Linked DNA regions of Homo sapiens: regions 1 and 3 are each linked to region 2. Evidence: promoter capture Hi-C in 16 types of primary human blood cells and fetal thymus (Javierre and others, 2016). All regions are on one chromosome and are shown on one strand. Each heading gives the region's core, a stretch centred on a gene start or on the middle of the fragment in contact. The rest is flanking DNA. Distances are from core to core; before and after follow the strand shown.

Region 1 (4,034 bases), core at 692-3,191, 210 kb after region 2:
CCATGTATATAAAAGTATATTTACACATGTAAAATTTTAACATATTTCACAAAATGTTTTAAAAATAATATTTGAGAAAAACTAACAGCAGTGAGTTTTTGGAATATATTGAAAAGTAATCTATTGTTTAGTTTCATGTGAATAATGCATTTCACAAAATATTTTTTAAAAATAATACTTGAGAAAAACAGCAGTGAGTTTTTGGAATATATTGAAAAATAATCTATTTTTTAGTCTCATATGAATCATGAGTTTAGAGTCATGGTTGGTTTGATATTTGATATTGGAATTTGTCAGAGCTTTATTATTCACACTTACTGTCTAACTTAATTTTTAATATTAAGCAATTTTAGTGTCTAACTTTATTTTCAATATTAAGCATTAGAAAAAAGTGCCAGAATCATTAGAATTCAGATTTGCTATCCTTGAGGAAAATTCCAGTTGGACTGAAATGGGCAAGTTGCCTCTCCTCTCTTTAATAATTAGTGTTTGGCTGAAATATAATCCAAATTCAATATTTAGTTGAAACATTTAATACTTAATCCAATAATAGTCTACTTCCAGCTTTGGACATTTCCAGACTTTCAACCTCACAGAGTTAATGTGAGCGATGTTACATCACTCGTATGAATCACTTAATACAATGCCGGGAATATGGTGGGAACTTAGGAAAATGGCAGCTGCTCTCTCCTCTTTCCCATCAATAACTACCAACCCCCTGGCAACACACCCAAATCCCTCAGGGTCTGGCAGTGGCCATCTGGTCCTCATCACCTTTTATGTAAATGTTACTCTTTCTTTCACTTCTCAGTATTACTTGCTAGTAAGGAATTTATTGTACAAATCAGTGATCCATCTCCCTTTTTCCAAGTTTTTAACTATTATACTTGATATAAGTGAAAGTTTCTAGAGTATACTTTATTGTATTCTACGGTATTAGTCTGTTCTCACACTACTAATAAAGATATACCCGAGACTGGGTAATTTGTAAAGAAAGAGATTTAGTGGACTCACAGTTCCACATGGCTGGGAGGCCTCACAATCATGGTGAAAAGCTAAAGGCACGTCTTACATGGTGACAGGCAAGTGCAAAGAAACGAGAGCCAAGCGAAGGGGGAAACCCCTTACAAAACCACTAGATCTCGTGAGACTTATTCATTACCATGAGAACAGTATGGGGAAACCACCCCCATGATTCAGTTATCTCCCACTGGGTCTCTCCCACAAAACATGGGAATTAAGGGACCTACAATTCAAGATGAGAATTGAGTGAGGACACAGCCAAGCCATGTCATTCACAAAACACTGAAATGCATTCTGATTCCAGTTAGTTATCAGACTTGGACCATAGATGACCAGTTAGAGCTTTTACTTGTCACTTACTTGGCTGTGTGTTATATTACACCTCAAAAATACCAGCAAAGGAGGAGCAGACTTTTAACAAAACACTGCTGGCATTTTTGCTTTGTCCTGTGGCATCATGGAGCCCTTCGTGTCCTGGCCTTTTTTTCTTGCTGGAAAGACTGAGGATATCACTTTATATTTGTTATATTCTTGGGTATAGAAAACCCAGGAGAGTCTACTGTGAGACACTGGTAAGTTCTCAGACGGTGTTTCTGGAAAATCACTGTCAGGTATTTCTAGAGAAGACGCATCTGATGGATGATTCAGCTACTCTCAGCTCCCTCTGCGAAGAGCATCTTGACAGTGAAGAGATATTGTGAAGCCATAGGATCATTCTGCACCCTGAACCTTATGTGACACTGATCCGGGGACCTCAGTTGTGGTGGCAGGATCTGAGCTTGGTCTAGATTCAAACTCTGTAAAGAGGAGCCTTCCTAGTCACCTGTGTTTGCTTTTTAGGTTTCATCTGAGTTTGGAGGGGTTTCATATAGGTTTTTGTTTATTACATTTCTGTGCTAGTAGCAACAAGAATATTTATTGTACATTTCAGATATTCCCAAGAATGGGTAGGGGGAAGAAACAATATTCATGAGAATACTGACTTGGGAGAGTGGATGTGGCTGTGCAGCATCAGATGGTATTCCAAGTATTTATTTTCTAAATAATTTGATGCCACATTTGTTTAAGAAACTTGTAGTTAGCTTTGTGTTCCATCCTTAATTCTTAGTGATACTTCCCTATTTCATTGAAGAGTAGTGAGGCATAGTTATTTCAATGTTCTATTGAGGTCCATGACCACAAAGTCCTTAATATTCCAGAGAGGTTAATTACCACTTGATGATTATAGTAGGAATAAGATTGACAGATGGGTATTGTGTTGCCATTTTGGAGAAGGGAAAATAAAAGCCGTAATATTGAAGCACAGCCCTCTAGGCATATATGAAAGCCATGTTCAACTTACTTACAAAAACACGATTAATCATGTTTTATGTATTTATATACTTGACAGATAAATATCAGTGAATATGGAAATTGGGCAAAGCATACTAAAAATATATTCTGCTGAATTTATCTGCATATATCTATTTGTGCTATTGAATTGACTGTGTAAAATATATTGAGTCTTGTTTCCTTATAAAACTTCCTTCTTGTTTTAAGTGAAAAGGACTATTAAAATTTGATCTAATGGTATGACAACTGTATGACCTAAATTTTCTTGGGCTATCTGTGGAGGAATCACACACTATAACTATACATGCAGTTTGCAAATTGTGAGCTTTATTTTATTTTTTGTGCATTGTTTTGCTGTTTTAGAAAAATAAACTTATATATGTATACACATATAGCATATAACTTATATATAATATATAGTATATAACTATTATATATACATAATATATGTATACATATATTAATATATATAGATATATAATGTGTGTGTTTACAAATATATATATATATCCTTTTCTCAGCAGGTCTCATTAACGTCATCTAACTTTAGTTGCCTGGAGACTTGGGAGGAAAAGTTATAGTTTCGCATTAACCATTTCCTTACGTTTTTTCTCCCTTATTGTTTTACTACTTTATCTTTTTAGCATACTCATTCATTGACCCAGAGACATTTATTGAATGCATATTATGTTTGAAACACCATACTAGGCATTGAGGAGGAATAAAAATGTAAGACAGAGTCTTTGCTATCAGGACACTTGCCATCTGCTTTTTCATCTGACAGAAATCAATGATCATGTTTTATGCTTTTTCTACATCAGTTATTATCAAAGACAAAAGTTATAGGCATGAGGTGGCTTTGCCAAGATAAGTCTGCAGGAAAATTTTCCCCATCTCATTTTTCGTGAAAGGGTTATCTATGAATTTAAATGTTCAATTAAACGTTAATTGTTTTATAGAAAAATAATGATTTTTCTGGGATTTCATTCATCTCATTTCTGCTCAACCACAAGGACATCCTCATTTCACTACAGTAGGAGATACCAAGTATGGCAGCCACCTAACTGCTATGAACAGGCCTCCCTGGTGACAGGCAAGACTGGGTCAAGTCCAGAGATAGGATTTTAACAGTTTTATTGGAGGAAAATATATTTTCTAGCTTCCAGGGTGACATGGAGTGACTTCACTGTGCTTCAGAACAACTCCCAGGAGTCGCTGTGTCGTCGTGATTTATCCTGGTCTTTGGAGCTAAGTTATTGGAAAAAAAAAAAATGTCTGAAAGGATGGACTGACTGGCTTCTCCCCTGGTTCCCATTTTTTCTTTGAAAACTTCTCCTTTTTGAAAGGAAAGGAACTTCTGGTGTCCTGTGTGTAAACGATAGCCTCTTCCTTTGTTGTCTTCTTGGGGAACTTTTTTTATATCTCAGATACACAGCTTTTACTTGGAGAATGATGATGTCTGTATTTTTCCAGCAAGATAAATGAAAATTGGACCAATTATGCAGTTAAAACTGTACAAAAGAATCATTTAAACTTACAGCTACTAGAGGTTTATTAATTCACCCCTGGAATTTAGCATAGCTAAGCTCAGCATAGGTATGGGGCCCTGTTCCACATTACTTTAAGAATTATAACAAAATATTTGGATAAGGCAGTTTCAAATCCTCTCCAGAATTCTG
Region 2 (2,700 bases), core at 1-2,500:
ACGAGGGTGAAGAGTTCACTCAGGGTGTGGGGTGGGGATAGGTCCACCTGGGGAGTCCAGGTGGGAAGCAAAACTTGCTTCAGGGATGCTTCCTGCAGGTAAGCAGGAGCTTAATGGAAACCGAGCTGCTTCAAGACTGTGCCTATAGCCTCAGGACTGCCTACCCTGTGCCCACAATAAAGTCTGGTGCGCCGGAATCTCCCAGATGGAGACTCTGAGCCAGGCAGTAGAAGGAGCCATGGCCAGGTAGTAGAAAGAGCACTGCCTCAGGAGTCATAGGACTGGTTTCCAGCTCCGGTTCTGCGGTGGCTCAGCCCTGGGGCCTCTGCAAGTTGCTTAACCGCATCTGCAGGTGATGACCTCTTCCAGTCTAACTGACTCCTCCTGAGTCCCCCTCAATTACACTGAAAATTGGCGATCCTATTTCCCAACTCCCTCTCCCACAGAGATGCGCTGGAGCACTTACAGATAAAAGGCGACCTGTGGCCCTGGAGGGTGCCTGCCTGTGTGTGCTGGAGGTGGCGGTGGATCTTTTATTACCCAACACTCCACTTGCCTTTTTAGCCTTTCCTCTCCCTCTTCTCTCCTGGCCTCCCAGTGGCCGTCAGGGGTCCCTGCAGACATCGCTTACCCACAGTGGTGCGGTGTGAGAGTTACAGGGGTTCCTGACCTTCGCTGTAAGTAAAAGCTCTCTAGGGGAGGCGTTATAGCTGACCAGGGCAGCAGAGACCGCGACTAAAGCGTGAATTCCCCGAAGTGCGATTTACAAAGTTTTTGCATGGAAGTCGGCGCTCGGCGGGGAGGGCAGCCAAGGGAACAGAGCGGGTGGAGCAGGGGGATGGGGAACTCTGTCCTGCAAGAGTAAGGACCCCATGGAGATTGGACACCTCTCTCCTGCAACTCGGGCCACGCCACAGTGTCCTAGTCTCTAAACTTCTCCGGCTCTTGGTGTCCAGTCACGCGTAAACCGCCCCTGGTGTCCGAGCGCGGCCCCTTCCGAGAGTGACAGGCTTCGGCCAGGGCGCCGCTCCGACGGGCGCAGGGACGCACTGCAGAGAGGCCGTGGGTGACGCGGAGGTACGCGGCCAACCGCGACCCCAGCCCGGCCTTGGCCGCCCCCGCCGGACCTACCCTGCGGCGGGGCGCCAGGCTTGGCCGCTGTTGCGCCCGCCCGCCCGAGCCGCCGCCGCCGCCGCTGCTCCCCGCCCCCGGGGTCCCTGGAGGCTCCGCGGCTGCCGGAGCGGGAGGTGGAGCCGAGTCCGCGGCGGCCGCGCAGGAGGGAAAGTTCAGCGACGGCGGCAGCGGCCGGAGCCGGGCCGGGCAGCTAGCAGGGCGCTTCGGGTGAGTCGGGTCCCCTCCCGGGCCAGCCGGGCGCGGTGTGCCGCGCGGGGGCGTCAGTGGCGCCGGCAGATCCCCACAGCCCCGCGCGCCTAGCTCGCGCCCGCCCACCCCGCGACCTCGGGGTGGCTCGTGCAGCTGCGGAGGACGGTGCCGCGCCTGGCCTCCCTCCGCCGCTGCCCGCCGGGGGCCCAGGGCACGGGCAGGGGCCGGGGACCGGCTTGGCAGGCGGAGGGCGCGGCGCCTCCAGGTGGGCGCGCGGGGACGCGGAGGGAGCTTCCAGGGAGGGTCCGGGGCCGCTGCGCTCCCGGGGTCGGTTTGGCTTCACCAGCGTTTCTCGTGGCCTTCCGCTGTCTGATTGCTTTCTGCAAAACCCACTGAAAAGTAGCCTTTCCACGTGCCGCGCGATGACTGCGGTTATTGTATTATTGTGGCTGGGATGGAGAGGGTGGAGGGGGCGTGACGAGGGTGGCCGGTGGGCAGCGCGCTCGCCTGCCCGGGACCGGGCTAGTGGGGGATGTGGCTGAGGGTCACCGCTGCCCGAACATGCCCAGGGGACGTGCGATCGGTGGGCAGAAGCTGTTCGAGGGCATGATCTTGGGGTGGGATGGGGGCTAGAAGGGCGGGGAGGAGAGGAAAGCTGTAGGAAGCGGAGGCAAAGTTGTTTGTTTCCGTCGCACTTCCTGCACCTGCATTCCTGTCAGAGATTTTGAAGTTATCTTTTCATCGATGAGCAAAGAATGGTGAGAAAGGAAGAGATGTTAACAGCACTGTGCCTGCCAAAACAGTGAGCCTCGGGAAATACTCATAAGTGAAATACTAATAAAAAGCATGGAGTGGTTAAATTTCACAAACTCCACTTTTCTTCTGGTTTCAAAGCCTTGGTGCAGTTTTTACTTAACGTCATTAGATACGTCTAGATAATAAAGGTAATGAAGTGTTCTTTCACGGTTTTTTTTTTTAAACTGGAAATTTAAATTTAATTCTGTAGGATTTCGTCGACATTGTTCCTACAAGAAAGTCAAATTACCTTGGTGTTACTTGCAACAGTGAGCATTAATAAGCCCTGTGCAGTGCTGAAATGTTGCTAATTGGAGGGAGAAAGGTCCTTCAAACTTGGAAATAGACGCAGAAAGGCAAGATGAATTTTTATGTAAGCCTTAGGCATAAAAGGCGACTTGAACACGTTTTGTAATAGTGCATAATACACAGGGGACTAGGTGTTGGGCTGCCGGAAGATGGTCAATTCCTAGAAAGCAAGAGACGGGCCATACCCATTGTAAGATCACCGTACATATTTAATAATTCGTCTGCCTTGAGCTGCCACACCATATGTACTCCACATAATACAATATCAAAATA
Region 3 (4,546 bases), core at 1,353-3,852, 230 kb after region 2:
TGAATCTAGCATTTTAGGTGACTCCTCGCTCTCTGTACCTTCTCGCCAAGGGTTAACCAGCCTGAACATGTGTATCTGTGATGAGGAAGAGCTCACTACCTCTTCAGGCACCTTCTGCCATCTGAGTACTCGTATGACTGGAATATGGTAGGAGCCAAGGCTAGAAGGCAGGGAGAGGGCCACATTAGAAAGACTTTGAGGGTCAGTGTGAGGACTTTCCAGGTCATTATTTTTGAAAATCATGATTGAAGCCATGGTTTAGTAAAACTATAATGGCAGCTGTGGTGAGGATTTGGAGTGGGAAGACTGGTTAGGGAGCTCTTTTGTCATGATAGGAACCTAAAGCAGAGAGATGTTTAAGGGAATAGAAAAGAGAAGACAGACATAAAAGGCTTTTGTAACACGGCTCATGTTTTTGAAAATACCGGGCTCATATGTCCTCATCCCCAGTCACCCCTAATTGTTCCTCACTGCCCTGCAGCTTTGCATCCATTGAAACTGGGATAATTGTTGTTTTGGGAGGAGGGTGGGTATAGCTTGGATAAAGAAGCCATGGCTGCTGGGCTTCCAGGATCAAAATGAGATTGTTTTAAGGTCCAGAGCGAGACAATAATGTGCAAACAAACATGTTTTTTTTTTTTAATTTCCAAAAGCTAAACTTGTTGAGAGACAGAAAGAAACAGCGACGAAGGCTCTGTGCTCTCCTACCAGCCAAGACCAACAGAGCCTAGAATTTACAGTACACCATGGCATTCATGCAGGATATGATGTCAGGACTATTTTCCTTAGAATAGGAAAGAAAAACTCAACCAGCAGGCAGGAAGTAGAGAGATTCAGAAGGGCCAGGCTCCTCTTTTCCCTTCCAGAAGCCCAAGCATCCAGGGAAAAGGGAAGGGGCAGGCAGGAGAAACCCAGAGGCCCCATCTGCTGGAAAGACATTGAGCTTTGGACTGGGCAGTACCTGCATCTGGCCAAAAGGAACCACTGGATCACAGTGAGTAGAGCAGAACAGGCTATGATGGGTGGTGTGCTCCCTGCAGACTGGGGACGTGAAAGCCAAGTTGAATTTGCTTGCAAACAACAAAGTTCTTTTGTTCCACCGAAGTCACAGTTGATAAAAAAATTTCACCTTGGCTATACTCTGAAGAGGTGAGGTGTTGAGGGCTCCTGCCTTGAAGTCATGAGATTCTATGTCAATTTTCCTTGCACCTGAGAAGCTGAGACCCAGAGAACTTTAGTGATTTGCCAAGGTTACTTAGTTGGTAAGCGGTGGTGTTAGAAACAGGACTTGGAGATGCCATTGCATTGTAAATTTTGATAGTATTTTGTAAATAAGGGAACTTAAATAAATGAAGTGATCCACTCAAAGCTGTGGCTCCAGCTAGGACTGAGCTGGGTGTTCTGCCTCCTGCCCTGCAATTTCTTTAGCAGTCCAGAATATGTCTCATGGGAATGGCAATATTAACGTCCATCCCATTTGACTTACATTGACTTTTTAAATTATGTGGAGCTATGAGTGAAAATTCTGGCAGACTGATTATGTTACATTCTTTTTAAGAAGCTTGTGCTTTTGGGGTTTCAATGTTTCCAACTCTAAAATAAAGATGATAGATATCTGCCTCCCTTGGTGGAATGTCATGAGGATTTAGAAAATAGCTCTATCTCTGAAGAGTTTCAAGCTCCCTGGAATTAGTCTAAGGTTTTAATTTTTCTTTTAATCATCAAGATGTTTTCATGTAATAGGAAATGGAAGCCTTAGCAAGAAACCACGGGTTCAGATTCTTAGGTATTCACACTTGAAGTGTCAGGCTTGAAGATCAGCTGATACTGATTGACTGATGACAGTTTCTGTGGGGAGTGGCAGAGAACCCCCTGTAGGTTCAAGGCAGTGGGGCTAGAGGCAGTAACTCCACACACTCCAGATTGCAGGGAAATATTTGTGTTGAACAAAACTTCTGTTGCTCATTTCGTGTGACTCTTTTTTCCTCACCAGTCCCTTTCTCATTAGAAAGTCTGTGACTTCAGGTAAATAGTCTTACTAACTTCATGGACAATCAACTTTTTCCTTTTCTATTCCTTTATGAGATAAGGTCTTGCTCTGTTGTCCAGGCTGAAGGGCAGTGGCACAATCATAGCTCGCTATAGCCCCGATCTCTTGGGTTCAAGCGATCCTCCAGCCTCAGCCACTTGAATAACTGGGACTCGAGCTGCGAGCCACTGTGCCCGGTGAACAATTTACTTTTTTCTGCTGTGCTATCGGTTTTACATTTTTTTAGAAGTAAGAGTTTAGCGACTGAATTCTAGTAAAGTTTACATGTCATGATTATAATGCATAAATGTAGAGACTAAGTCATAAATGCAAAATCTGTTACTCATCTATGTTAATGAAGCAAAGAGTTATAGATATTATAAAATTATATATACACTTACATATATACACATACACACTCATGTACAGTCAGTACTTGTGTGCGTGTGTGTGTGTGTGTGTGTGTGTGTGTATGTGTACACATTCATGGATATTGAATGGATTCAACCAACCATGGATTGAATTTTTTTTGTTTTGTTTTGTTTTGTTTTGTTTTGTTTTTTCAGCCAGAGTCTCGCTCTGTTGCCCAGGCTGGAGTGCAGTGGCGTGATCTTGGCTCACTGCAACCTCTGCCTCCTGGGTTCATGCAATTTTCATGCCTCAGCCCCCGAGTAGCTGGGATTACAGGCACGCACCACTATGCCTGGCTAATTATTTTGTATTTTTAGTAGAGACAGAGTTTCATCATGTTGACCAGGCTGGACTCCAACTCCTGAGCTCAGGCAAGAGCTCACCTCAGCCTTCCTAAGTGCTAGGATTACAGGCGTGAGCCACTGTGTTGGGCTGAGACTATTTTAAAAAATAAAATATGAGAAATAATTGTAAAAATTATACAAATAATAGTACAATAGCTATTTACATAGCATCACATTGTGTTAGGTTATTATAAATAATGTAGAGATGATTTAAAGTATACAGGAGGATGTGCTTAGGTTATACACAAGTACTGCACCATTTTGCATAAGGGAGCTGTGCATACATGGATTTTAGTATCCATGGAGGAGTCCTGGAATCTGTCCCTCATGGATACCAAGCGACAACTCTGTGTGTGTGGGTGTATGTGTGTGTGTATTTGAAGTTTTAATGAATAGACACATTTTCCCTTACCACTTTTTCATTCACTGCTATTTTGATATTGATACGTATTTGATAACTATTCCTGATATTTATTAGTAATGGGGAAAGGGTTGCAGTAATGATGAATGAAATGTTATTAAGAGCCCAAACGTCAAAGTCAAGTGAAACAGGAGATAAGAGCTTCTTCTTGATTTAGCTCCTACTTGTTTGCCACCAGCCTTGAGTAGGATTCCAGGAGCCAGGAGGAAGAGCTGATGCCCAGTAGTGGTCAAGGCCCACAGGTCTGGTCAGTTGCACAAATGCCCTGGTCTTCTCCCTGATACACACCCTTCCAACTACTGCTCACTCACTCTCACTCTTCTGCTATGCAGTTAAACTTCTGGAAAAATTTCTGCATATTCATTGTCTCCATTTCCTTCCCACTCTGTCTTTAATTCACTCTTCTTTCGCACTCAACAACTCACCAAAAAAGCTTTTAAGTTACCGTTGACCCCCACGTTGCTCAACTCACCGAGCTTTGTTGCAGTTCTCAGCTTACTTGATTTCTCGGCAGCATCTGACGTTGCTGTCCACTGAATCCTTCTTTTTAAAGGTATATTCAAATTTTGAGACTTCAAAATTTTGTGAATGACAGCCCCATCTACTCGCCATTTGGTTTAATAAATAAAATCTTAACATTAACAACCATTACTCATAGACCTTCTGAAGGCTGTGTGCCCTTCCCCAGTCACATCCCACTTCTTCCATCTCAAGAGAGAACTACCATCCTAGCCTTAGCGTTTGGGGTATCTAGGGGTTTGATATCTTTATTTTCTACATCTGAGTTCTGTCAGTTCCCTCCAGCCAAAGACTGTTAGGCACACTCTGTAGTTGGACACGCTGGGTTTATTATTTGTTGCTGCAAAGGAGAATGCATACCATGGGAAGTCGTGAGGTATCCTAGTAAGAGGGTGTTGAGGGAGAACCCATCATACAGATTTGGGTCTTGGTTGGATGATTTGGGGGTGGGTTTAAGGAAGGAGAGATTTGCTCTAGATTGGATCTCCTCAGAAAGAGTAATTCTCACATAAGGTATCTCAGTAAATCTTACTATGGGGGTCTAGAATGAGGATAAAGTTGTAATTAGTAAAGAGGCAGTCACTTTGGCCAAGAAAAGGGGGTGTTTGGTATTTTGCGGGTGACATGTTGACCTTGTTTTTGTCTGTGTTTAGACAAAATTATGGAGTGGCCTTGTTTTGTCTCTCTTTATCACTTGTGTGAGGCTGGTTTTCTTTGAGATGGTTTATGTCTAATAGCGGAATAACATGACCTTGCCGTGACTGTCAGGCAAGCTTCTGAATATCAAGGGCTGCTTGCTTTTTTTTTTTCTTTTTCTTTCTC

Evidence for each region. Contacts are between HindIII fragments. The CHiCAGO score rates a contact against its expected background, and 5 or more counts as called.
Region 1: a contact is called between a fragment that was not itself captured here and the fragment with the promoter of CSGALNACT1 in region 2, in 2 of 17 cell types (neutrophils and naive CD8 T cells). The highest score is 16.1, in neutrophils.
Region 3: a contact is called between a fragment that was not itself captured here and the fragment with the promoter of CSGALNACT1 in region 2, in 7 of 17 cell types (neutrophils, non-activated CD4 T cells, naive CD8 T cells and 4 more). The highest score is 12.7, in neutrophils.

Annotation. Positions count from the first base shown.
Region 1 is chr8:19,544,597-19,548,630 of GRCh38, reverse strand. The region is part of intron 2 of CSGALNACT1 (chondroitin sulfate N-acetylgalactosaminyltransferase 1); the gene reads left to right. Among named protein-coding and RNA genes, the nearest start is that of CSGALNACT1-AS1, 130 kb to the left of the region's middle. The HindIII fragment of the contact is 9,869 bases long and covers 1-4,034 here.
Region 2 is chr8:19,755,827-19,758,526 of GRCh38, reverse strand. It overlaps CSGALNACT1 (chondroitin sulfate N-acetylgalactosaminyltransferase 1), which reads left to right and starts at 1,250. Exons shown (of 9, transcript NM_001354483.2): 1 at 1,250-1,341. The HindIII fragment of the contact is 8,664 bases long and covers 1-2,700 here.
Region 3 is chr8:19,528,267-19,532,812 of GRCh38, reverse strand. All of the region lies in intron 2 of CSGALNACT1 (chondroitin sulfate N-acetylgalactosaminyltransferase 1), which reads left to right. Among named protein-coding and RNA genes, the nearest start is that of CSGALNACT1-AS1, 150 kb to the left of the region's middle. The HindIII fragment of the contact is 2,077 bases long and covers 1,564-3,640 here.